Regions from separate parts of the Homo sapiens genome. Here region 2 is linked to region 1. Evidence: promoter capture Hi-C in human tissues and cell types (Jung and others, 2019). All regions are on one chromosome and are shown on one strand. Each heading gives the region's core, a stretch centred on a gene start or on the middle of the fragment in contact. The rest is flanking DNA. Distances are from core to core; before and after follow the strand shown. Region 1 holds the start of BARX1 (BARX homeobox 1). Region 2 has its middle 4.8 kb from the start of PHF2.

Evidence for each region. Contacts are between HindIII fragments. The study calls those that stand out against the background at their distance.
Region 2: a fragment that was not itself captured here is called in contact with the fragment with the promoter of BARX1 in region 1 in 1 of the 25 tissues and cell types used here (liver).

What each region holds. Positions count from the first base shown.
Region 1 is chr9:93,951,980-93,957,793 of GRCh38, reverse strand. BARX1 (BARX homeobox 1) reads left to right here and starts at 2,439. Exons shown (of 4, transcript NM_021570.4): 1 at 2,439-2,870; 2 at 4,607-4,898; 3 at 4,981-5,065; 4 at 5,466-5,814. The coding sequence starts at 2,648. The coding sequence ends at 5,630. It overlaps BARX1-DT (BARX1 divergent transcript), which reads right to left and starts at 1,960. Exons shown (of 2, transcript NR_144455.1): 1 at 926-1,960; 2 at 1-281. LOC124902216 (a long non-coding RNA gene) reads right to left here and starts at 2,268. Exons shown (of 3, transcript XR_007061672.1): 1 at 2,154-2,268. RefSeq lists enhancers at 1,383-1,913, 1,914-2,445, 3,857-4,420, 4,421-4,985. The HindIII fragment of the contact is 32,678 bases long and covers 1-5,814 here.
Region 2 is chr9:93,568,865-93,574,654 of GRCh38, reverse strand. No RefSeq gene overlaps it. Among named protein-coding and RNA genes, the nearest start is that of PHF2, 4.8 kb to the left of the region's middle. The HindIII fragment of the contact is 8,158 bases long and covers 1-5,790 here.

The sequences.
Region 1 (5,814 bases), core at 1,190-3,689:
TCAAATTTGGGTAGCTTCTGTTAGGGCCCAAATAACAGGGGATGGGACAGAGGCTAGCTGGGCCTACTCAGGGGAGAAACCACCACTAGGCTATGCCCTTAGGGAGATGCAGAAGCCAGGGGGTGAGGAAGGGGCAGGGGCCCTGCTAAGATGGGGGAGGTGAGGGAGGAAGCCGGAAAAAGGAGCTTGATATGGCTCTGTACAAGAAGCAATAGTAAACCAGCCCTACTCACTGGAGTCCCTGCACCAGGGCTGCCTCTTGCTGGGCCTCAGTTTCCCATCTGAAAAAGGAGATGGTTGGATTGAGTGATACTATTGCACTCATCTAGGGAGGGTTCTCTGAGTCTACCCGTTGATAGGGGGAGCCTGACTGGGCTGCCCCAGCCTCCCAGGAGACACTGGCTTGTTTCTATTTGCCAGGTAGGATGTCAGTGGCTGCTTGGCCAACAGCGACAGGGCCAGCTTCCTGGTCTCTTGGTCTCTCAGGAGGAGGCCTGCTCAGTGTGGGATACTGTTGCTCTTAGTGCGCCCCTCTCCACCCTTTCCAAAGAACCATGTAGGCTCACAGCACCACTCTCCGAGGGAGTCCGAAGCAACTGGCGGCCATTGAGGCCACCTTCTTTCAGTCCCAATGGTAACTCTGAGTTCAGAAAGTCATGCAACAACTGGGAAGGAGAGACAGTGGGCTCTTGGGACTGGGATCTTACCAGAGTAAGGTAGTCTTTGTCCTCACTCCAGGCCCTACAGACAAAGGATCTGGGCCACTTCCTAGTCCCCACCTGCCCCCCACCCCCACTCCCGAGTCTGGGGCAGGTGCCAGGGACTGAGGGCCAGCCTGAAGGCCTCCCCACCAGCAGCTGGAGCTGGAGAAAGGACTTCAACTTGGGTGGGGGGCATGGCTGTAGGTGTGGTAAGCCCTAGTTACCTGAGGTAAAGACTGAGGCCCCACATGGAGCTCACAGAGGAAGTCCGGGTGGCCCAGGACACCCCCAGTGCATCAGGCGCTGACTGGCAATGGTGGATGGGGCTAGGAGGTAGGCCCTGTGATTCCTGAGAAGGAGGAGGGCAGATGCTCCTCCCCCAACCTCCTGGGGACACTTCTCCCCTCTTGCCTGGAGGAACTGTTTTCTCTCCAAACAGACCTAAGGGCTCCCAGGGTGCAGGACCCTCGGAGTGCAGGACCCCCTCACTGAGTTCTCACAGTCTCTCTGGAGCCAAAGGTCAGCATCTCCTCAGGACAGGTAAGGAAACAGGCCCAGAAAGGGTCAGTGGTTTCACCAGTAGTGGCAGGACCAAAGAGAGGAGTTCAGCGTAGGGTAGCTTTGGGGTTGTTCACTCCACGGCTTGGGCTTATACTCTTCTAAGGATGGAAAGAAAGATCTAGAGAAGGTACTGCCAACTTCCTCCACCATGTTGGAGCTTTTGAGGCTCCGCAATGGAGCCAGGTCCCACCAGAGTTTGGTCTTTACACTCTCAGAGCACCCACTGGCCCCCTGGCCCCAACTCCGCCCAGTAACAGTTTCTTGATGCCCCAAAGCTGGGAAAAGGCAAAGCTGCATCCTTCCCTTCTCCTCGAATCCTTTTCCTTTTCTAACTAGGGGGATGTAACCAGCCTACAGTCTTCTGGGGGCTGTCAAGGAGGATGTGTCCATGGATCACTTGAATTTCCAATTCAAGCAAATCTCGGCTGGAGAACATTTTTCTCTCAGGGCAGCCCGGAGAGAAATGAGGCCGTACATGGTAAACTGAGGCAGAGGTGGGAGGGGTGCACAGGTGCCGCTACCGCTCTGCCCCTTGCATCCCTGAACGCTGCCTCACCCTTGCCGGGTTGGCGGTGTTGAGCCCGGGACTGGAGGCTGCTTGAGACCACCTCCTTCCCAGCTGAGGAGCGCGGCCTTTGCCCCTCCTCCTCCCGACCTTTCCGGGGCTACCTAAAAGCCGATCAAGCCGCCGGTTTTCTAGCTGTTCCCATTTCTTTACCGCCCCCTTCCTCTGCCCCGCCTGCCTCTGTGCCCTCCGTCACGTCACAGCCCGCTGGCTCTCACGCCTCTTTTGGTCTCTCTGCGCACATCTCGGTGGCGTCTCTGGTGCCCTCACATCACTGTCTGGAATCTTGTTTGGCCCACGCCGTCTGCCTCTGCCCCTTCTCTCACCTGTGTCGTTTGATCCCTCCGACTCTCGTCTCTGGGGGTCTTGCCTCCCGAACTCTCCGGCTCTCTCCTTCCAGGGCGTGCGCTCCGCTCAGTCTCCCTCGGTCTCGGTCGGCCGGCCTCTTTCACGTGGCCCCCTCCTTTTTGGCCTCCCTTCCGCCTCCCTCCCTTCTGGGTCCCTCCCTCCGGCTCAGCCTAGGGGTTGGGGGCGGCGGCGCGGGGCGGGGCGGGGCGGGGCGGTGACGCGGGGCTGGCCGGGCAAGAGGCGCGGCGGCGTGGGGAGGGGGCGCAGTCCCGGGTTCGACCGGCCGAGCCCCGCGCGCCCCGCCCGCGCCCTGCGCCTCCGCCCGGCCGGCCGGCGGGGGAGGGGGCATGAGCCGGCGCCCGCGCGCCGCCCCGAGCTGCGGGCCGGCCTAGAGCCCCGCGCGGGCCCCGCGCCGGAGCCAAGCCGTCGCCGCCGCCGCCGCCAAACCGCGGGCGCAGCAGTGGGCGCCGCGATGCAGCGGCCGGGGGAGCCGGGCGCCGCGCGCTTCGGCCCGCCCGAGGGCTGCGCGGACCACCGGCCGCACCGCTATCGCAGCTTCATGATTGAGGAGATCCTCACGGAGCCACCCGGGCCCAAGGGCGCCGCGCCCGCAGCCGCCGCTGCCGCGGCGGGCGAGCTGCTGAAGTTCGGCGTGCAGGCGCTGCTGGCGGCGCGGCCCTTCCACAGCCACCTGGGTACGTGTGGCGGCCGCGGGGTCGCGGGCCGGGCTTGGCGGGAGACAGCGAGCTGAACCGCGGGGGCGCCCCGAGCCTCCTCCGGCATCGAAGCAGCCCCGGGAAGCTGCTCTGGGAGCGCAGGTTCTGGGACCGTCTCTCGGAGCCCTCCAGGCGGGAGGCGGAGGGTGCAAGCTCCAGGCCTCACAGAAACCAGGCCTCGTGCCCGCGGGCCGCCCGGGGAGGGTGTTCGCTCTTTCCTTCACTGCTTCCCTTCGGCCTCCAGCCCGGGGACCCCGAGTGAGCATCCCCAGTGCAGGCGCACTGCCAGGCTACGGACTCTCGTGGGTGGAAGCGACCTCAGGCCACGGGCGCCTGGGCTTCGCCGCAGAGGGATGGCCGGGAGTGGCCGCGGCTGCCCAACCCAGGGAAGTCGGACCTCTGGGGAGGAGGCCTGCGCTCCCGAGGGCTGGGTGCTGACGCGGGCCCAAGCCGGCCCGGAGTCCCCGGGAGCTCCAGCGGGCGAGGAACGCGGCCTTGGCCGCAGTGCGGACCTGCTTCGGCCTTGCCTTGGGGCCAGAGGCCTGACTGTGAGCAGCTGCCTGGCTGTCCCTTCTGGTTTCAGGTCGGCTGGGCCTCTGCAGGGCTTGAACGGCCTGCGCAGACCTTTTCAGCTTCTGCCCTTTCTTCTAATTTGGCGGGGCCTGCTCTGCCCTGATGGTGCTGTCTCCATCGCACTCCACCCTCGTCTTGTCTTTCCCTATCTCGCTTTCCAACCGTCTGCCGGTCGGCCTCCCTCGCTTCTCTCATTGGGGTCGGCCTGCCTCCCATCTCCCACCTTTTCCCTACGGGTCCTCTGCCCCACATTTACCTGCGCCTTGCCCTGCCCTTTCCGACTCCAGCCAGGCTAGGACTCGCACCTCAGTGACAGGCCTGTCGGGGAAGGGAGGCTCCTACGCTGTAGCCGGGACCCCAGCCCTTCAAGTCGCCTTCCCTGCACCCCCCCACCTCCTAGTCGGTGCTCCCTAGCCTGGAGACGGCAGGGCCAGCGCGCTCCTTCTAAGTCCAGCTGGGACTCGGCCATTCGGCTACCTTTCGTCTCCATCTGCTCTGTTGCTACTAATTCGTTTGAAGCGGGCACACAATCATTTTAGGACTGAAGAAAATGGAAACATCTGCATGGGGAAGCGTCTGAAAATAGAAAACGTGAACAATAATTTCCAGGTTCTCAGGGTACTTTGGAATTTCCGGGAAGCACCCAACTCCGGCCCAGATGACTCCTGGCCACCGCATGGCTGTTGTGCCACGCACGGAAGAGCAAATGTGCACGCTCCGTGCATGTTCTTTTTCTAACGCAGCAAGGCTGATTTGGTTGGAGCAAACGCCATCTTCTTAGGACCAGCTGCCGTTTTCTTTTTGGTTTCTACTTTCCCCGAAAGACAAGACACACTCCGAGTTTCTCGCAGCTGCAAACATGTTCATCAGGAACCCCGAGATCTCAGAGGCAGCTGAGGCCTGGGGAACTCCAGGACAGAACACGGACAGGGTCGAGGAGATACTCCCTCCCAAATCTGGGGAACGGCAACGTTGAGGAGGGTCTCCATCTGCGCCACCGGCGCCGACCGGCAGGGCGTGGAGGTTTTGCGCTGGGAGGCACTGGCCAAGCGCGAGCACCCCCGCGGCACGTGGTGCGGCAGTCCCTGGGGCAGAGGAGCGCGGCCGTAGCTCACCCGGGTCCTCATTCTCTTTCTTCGCAGCCGTGCTGAAGGCCGAGCAGGCGGCGGTGTTCAAGTTCCCACTGGCGCCGCTGGGCTGTTCAGGGCTGAGCTCTGCGTTGCTGGCGGCAGGGCCCGGGCTGCCCGGCGCCGCGGGTGCGCCACACCTGCCGCTCGAGTTGCAGCTCCGCGGGAAGCTGGAGGCGGCAGGCCCTGGGGAGCCAGGCACCAAAGCCAAGAAGGGGCGTCGGAGCCGCACTGTGTTCACCGAGCTGCAGCTGATGGGCCTGGAGAAACGCTTCGAGAAGCAGAAGTACCTTTCCACGCCGGACAGGTAGGGCGGTACAAGGCTGGGGCCAGCGGGCTGTGGGAGTGTGGTCACTTGCCTTGCTGAGGGTGCGCCCTGCTCTTTCCAGAATAGATCTTGCTGAGTCCCTGGGCCTGAGCCAGTTGCAGGTGAAGACGTGGTACCAGAATCGGAGGATGAAGTGGAAGAAAATAGTGAGTGTGCCTGGTGGCTTCCCACCCCTCAGCTTCCTGGGCCATGCCCCGGTGCATGCAGAGCTGCTCTCCTCTTTCTCCCCACTGAGACTCTGCCCAACCCCCCGATTCCCTCGGTGCCTGGTACGCACCGGAATCCTCTCAGTTTTTTCTGCCCCTTGGGTAAGCCAACATTTCGTCCTTTCCCGCGGCACCTTCAGGCCTCCTGGCAGTCTTATGCTCCCCAGGCCGGGCCGCTCCCCAGGCGGCATTTGGACAAATGGCCGCCATTTCCCGGGACATTTCCCCACCATTTCCTCATATGGACCCTGCACTCCTTAGTCCTACCTGGGTTCAAGTCTCCTCGGGGGTCCCCAGTCCACGTGCTGGCTCACCCAGGTGCTGGCGGTCCCCCGTGCAGGTGCTGCAGGGCGGCGGCCTGGAGTCTCCCACCAAGCCCAAGGGGCGGCCCAAGAAGAACTCAATTCCAACGAGCGAGCAGCTTACTGAGCAGGAGCGCGCCAAGGATGCAGAGAAACCGGCGGAGGTGCCGGGCGAGCCCAGCGACAGGAGCCGCGAGGACTGAGGGCGGTATACGGTGCGGGGCCTGGGATGCCCGCGCCACCCGCAGCCCCCTCACTCGGCGGAAACCCGCGAGCCGGCCCTTCCGCGTCCAAGAAGTTTACTTCCTAAGCCTTTTTATTATGATCTTGAATGCGGACAATTGGGGCCAAACGAGGAAGGACACAGACCCAAAAGCCAGACCCAGG
Region 2 (5,790 bases), core at 2,037-4,536, 380 kb after region 1:
CCTGTTTACAAACAGTGACAGTAGTTAGCCAACATTTAGCAAATGCTTTTACCAGGACAGTGCCCTGGGCTCAGTTCTTCACGAGGTTTTACCAGTACCTAACCAGATGTTTGTAAGCGCTTAGCAAATTCCTGGGTCATGATGGCAATTACTACATACTCAGGACTCTCCTTTGGTGCCTTTAGGTATTGGTATTAGTGCCATTTCACAGAAGTGAAAACTGAGGCGCTAAGCAATTAAACATCCAGCCAGACAGAGGATGTCAGCTCCCTGGTGAGAGGGCAGAGGGTGGGAGCCAGTGAGGAGCCCTCAGCTGGTCTCCAAGTCTTGGGCCTGTGCTCCCTGCCCCGCAGCCACCGCACAGAATGTGTCTGGAGAAGCTCGGCCTCCCTGCTAGTCGTTCGGGGTGTCCACCCCACCCACCTCCCAGCCCTGCCCTTCAGATGGTCTCCTGTGCCCACCAGATACATTCCTTTTGTTCAAAGCCCTTCCATGGCTGCCTGCCATCTATGGGATAAAACAAGTGTCATCAGAAGCCCACAAGCTCCCTCTGTTTGGCTTCTCCCTATGGCTTCCCCTTTCTTTTTGTTTTTTCTTTTTCTTTTTTTTTTTTTTTTTTTGAAATGGAGTTTCACTCTTGTTGCCCAGGCTGGAGTGCAGTGGCACGATCTCGGCTCACTGCAACCTCCGCCTCCCGGGTTCAAGTGATTCTCCTGCCTCAGCCTCCCGAGTAGCTGGGATTACAGGCATGTGCCACCACAGCTGGCTAATTTTGTATTTTTAGTAGAGAAGGGGTTTCTCCATGTTGGTCAGGCTGGTCTCAAACTCCTGACCTCAGGTGATCCGCCCGCCTCCACCTCACAAAGTGCTGGGATTTCAGGCGTGAGCCACTGTGCCCAGCTGACTTCCCCTTTCTTTTTTCCATCTCCTTCAGGACATGCACCTCCCCACTCCTCCCTCCTTCCCTCCTTCTCTCTCACTCCTCTACTGAGGTATTTATTGAGCATCTACTGTGTCCTGAGCAGTGTTGTAGACACTGGGGACTCAGCAGAGTCTCAGCTCTGTTGGAGTTCACATTGGAATAAAGGGAGACAGTCAATACATACATCAATGCATACAAGATGATTGGGGAGAAAGAAGGGCACTGGCTAGAGGGACACTCCCCTGAGAAGGTGAGCTGGGGGCAAAGGCCAGGATAGGACTGCTCACAGAGGGTAAGGACCATAGCGAACTCACTCTTGCTTGGTGGTAAGGAGGGAAAGGCCCCAGAGAGGAGGACGGTGGCCTTGGAAATTCAGGTAGCATCTTACTGCCTCCCGCACCTCATTGCCTTTGGCCCCAAACTCAATGGCCTCCTCTGCTTAGTGGTTAGCCAACTACTAACTGCCTCAACTACTAACTGCCCGGTGCCTCAATGCCTGCCCACCACACCCTCCATGTTGCCCAGGGCTCAGCTGCACTTCAGCACTTAGGAGGCTATGCCAGTGTCAAGATGTCCCTACCCATAACCTCAGTCAGACTGGCATTGTGCAGGTGCAGCATGAGTGGGTTCACAAGCTCCAGGGCCTCCATGCACCTGCACCCTGGTGCTGCAATGACAGTGCCGCTGCAGCATGGATGTGTTTTATTCCCCTTCCTACCCAGCCATCAGCATAGCCTGCTCCAGGGCCTGTGGTTCACACATTCACTAAACATGTGTTGAGTGCAAGTGCAGGTTTTTTGGCAAAATTGGGGTTACATATACATGATATAAACCTTACCATTTTAACCATTTTTAATGCACAGTTTGGTGGTATTAAGTACATTCACACTATTGTGCAACCACCACCACCATCCATCTCCAGAAAATTTGCCACGGTCCCCAGTGGAAACTCTGTCCCTTATAACACCACGCCCCTCCTCCTCCAGCCCCTGGCAGCCACCATTTGCTTTTTGTCTCTATGAATTGGACTCCTCTAGGTATCTTATATACGTGGAATCACACAGTATTTGTCCTTTTGTGACCAGTTTATTTCACTTAACATAATGTCCTCAAGTTTCATGCCTACTGTAGCATGGGTCAGAACTTGCTTCCTTTTTAAGACTGAATAATATTCCCATTGTATGTATGTACCACACTTTGTTTCTCCATTCATCTGCCAGTGGATACTTGGGTGGCATCCATCCTTTGGCTGTTGTGAATAATGCTGTTATGAATGTTAGCATGCAAATAACTGTTGGAGTCCCTGCTTTCACTTCTTTTGGGTATATATCCAGAAGTGGAACTGCTGGATCACATGGTGATTCAATTTTTGTATTTTTTGAGGAACTGCCATACCATTTTCCACAGTGGCTATACTATTTTACATTCCCACCAGGAATGAAAAAGAGTTCCAGTTACTCCACGTCTACATCAACGCTTATTATTTTCTGTTTTGTTTTTTTAAAGACTATTTTGGCTACTTGGGGTCTCTTGAGATTCCATGTTTTCTAGAATGGATTTTTCCTTTAGAAAATTTATTTCTGCAAGGAAACAATGTTGGGATTTTCATAAGGATTGCGTAAATCTGTAGATTGCTTTTAAGAGATTGACCTTTTAACAGTAAGTCTTATAATCCACAGACACAGGCTGTCTTTTCATTTATTTGTCTCTTTTTAAATTGCTTTGAGCAAAGTTTGGTAGTTTTCCATTTTCAGTGTACAAGTATTTTGTCTCCTTGACTAAGTTTATTCCTGAGTATTTTATTCTTTTTGATGCTACTATAAATGGATTTTTTTTCCATAATTTCCTTTTTAGATTTTTTTTTTTTTTTTCTGAGGCAGAGTCTTGCTCTGTCACCCAGGCTGGAGTGCAGTGGCATGATCTCGGCTCACTGCAGCCTCCACCTGTGAGACTCAGGTGATTCTCCTGCCTCAGCTTCCCAAGTAGCTGGGATAACAGGCATGTGCCACCACACCTGACTAATTTTTGTATTTTTAGTAGACACAGGGTTTCACCATGTTGGCCAGACTGGCCTCGAACTCTTGACCTCAGGCCATCCACCTCCCTCCGCCTTCCAGAGTGCTGGGATTACAGGTGTGAGCCACTGCGCCTGGCTGTTTTAAGATTGTTCATTGTTAGTGTATGGAAACAAAACTAATTTTCATATGTTGATTTTGTATCTTGCTCTTTGCCAAATTCATAGGTTTTGGAGTGGTTTTATGTCTGTGGACTCTTTAGGGTTCCTATATCTTGATGATCTTACATGATGATATAAGATCATGTCATCTGTGAACAGATAATTTTACTTCTTTTCCAGTTTGGATGCCTTTTTTTTTTTCTTTTCCTTTTTCTTGTGTAATTGCTCTGGCTAGTACTTCCAGTACTATGTTGAATAGAAGTAGGGAGAGTGGGCATCCTTGCCTTCTTCCTCATCTTACAGAAAATGCTTTCAGCTTTTCACCATTGAGTAGGATTTTAGCTGTCAGCTTTTCACATATGGCCTTTACTATGTTGAGGAAGTTTCCTTCTATTCCTAGTGTATTTAATTTTTTAATCAAGAAAGGGTGTTGAATTTTGTTAAATGCTTTTTCTACATTAATTGAGATGACCATGTAGGTTCTTATTGCTCATTCTGTTAACATGTGTATTACATTGATTGATTTTTGGATGCTGAACCATCCTTGCATTCTGGGAATAAATCCCACTTGTTCATGGCGTATGATCCTTTTAATACGCTACGAATTCAGTTTGCAAGTATTTTGTTGAGGATTTTGGCATCAATATTCATAAGGAATATTGGTCTGTAGTGTTCTTCTAGTATCTTTGTCTGGCTTTGGTATCATGGTAATCATGGCCTCATCAAAAGAGCTTGAAAGTATTCCCTCCTCTTCAATTTTCTTTAAGGGTTTGAAAAGGACTGGTGTTAATTTTTCTTTAAATGTTTTGTACAATTCACCAGTGTAGCCATCTGTTCCTGGACTTTTCTTTGTTGTGAGGTTTTTGATTAGTGATCCAATCTCCTTACTAGTTGTAGGTCTGTTGAGATTTTTTGTTTCTTCATCATTCAGTCTTGGTAAGTTTTGTATGTCTAGAAATTTGTCCATTTCATCTAGGTTATTTTGTTGGCACACAACCAATGCAGGTTTCATAGACTGAATGAGGCAGAAACATTCCTACTTCCATAGATACCATAGGCCAGAGCAAGAGACAGGTAACTAATAATTGATGGGGGTGGAAAATGTTAGAAAGGAAATACTAGCTTGAGGTTGGGTGTGTATTTGTGAAAGATCAGTTGATTTGGTCAGTGCATAGAAACTTCAAATACTGGGCCCCTTCTTGGAGTACCTGGGGAAATTTTTTAAGCCATCTGGGCTTTTCTGACAGGTATGAAAGTGACCCTCCTTCTTGACCATCTCTAGGATGGTCCTGTGATGTTTGGATGCAGTGAGCTTGTGGACAAGTCTCTGAGCCAGGTGACTACATTATTTACTACTATCCAAAAGGGTGCTGTTAATAAAGCACCAAAACAGGGGCAAACTGAGGCTATCCTGGGCAAACTGAGACTGATGTGACCCTCTCTATAGCCCATACTGGCATCAGTTGAGTTTGTAGAGATGGACATTCACAAATGCCAGGAGTAGGCATGGTTTCATGAGGTCAGGATGGGTCTGCACAGGTGCCTCCAGCTGTTTGCTTCCTGAACTGATGGAACTTGCTGGGCACAGCCTGGGAAAAGGCCATCCTGGGTGGCCATCCTGGTCCACCCAAGGTGCCTGGAATCTGCTTGGGTAGCTCCCACCTGCCCTCTAGGTCATTCTTCAGAGAGGCTTCCCTGACACCTTCCTCCTACCCCCACCCATGTAAGTTCCTCATTTCCTCTGCATTTGTCCTTCATAGAACTTATTACCACTGCTGTTGCATTTTTTTTTTCTTGAGTGCGTTTTCACATGGCTGTCCTTTACAAACTCTGGTGAAGTCCCACAGCCAGTTCAGCACAGGGCAAAGCACATTAATGAAAAGCTTATTTTGTCCCATGTGCAGGTCTTTGGTCAACTTAGCCTGGGCTGTGTTACAGCCAAGACTGGAAGCTTCCCTGGGGTACAGGGAGGAGTAACCAGACAGCTTGGGGACAAAGGTGGGGTGGATGAGGGCAGGGCTGCCAGGCTGGCCAGCAGCAGGCTCCTGGCAAAAAGGCCTCTGCACCATCTACTCCACAACGTGGGGAGCCAAGTAGCATAGGACTTTTGTCCAAGATATAGTGAGTAAGGGTAGGGAGTTGAGGCTAACAAGAAAGTATTGCATTCTCAGAAGAACTGAAAGTAGAATAAAACTGAGGGAGGGATGAGAGTCACCCCTAAGGTTACTGTCCATCATAAAACACCTGTATTCTGCTGTCTGCCCCATGCAGTGCAGAGGTAGGCTCCCTCTGAGCAGGGAGAAGGAATGCAGGGCAAGGAGGGGTGTCCTGGAAAGCAGAGCAGCCTAACACTACCTTGGTCCTTGTTGTTGATGGTATAGAGAAAGGTATAGACAGTGAATTATTTCTTAAAATTCTTACCTGATTGTTTGGGAGATCATAAAACAGCCAGGAGAGACATTAGAAGTTCCCTGTCAATTGAAAAATGAAGAAATTATGGGCAAATTAAATGTAAGAGGGGAAATGTTCACCCTCACTAGAAATCAAAGTCATGCAAATAAAAACCCATTTTTTAACCTGTCAAATTGGCAAACACCAGTGCCTTGACTGTGCCCAGCAGCCAGGCTAGTACAGACAAAGAGCTCCTGGACCCTGGATACCAAGCAGCGTTCCGGAGCTAAATCAGCAGGAG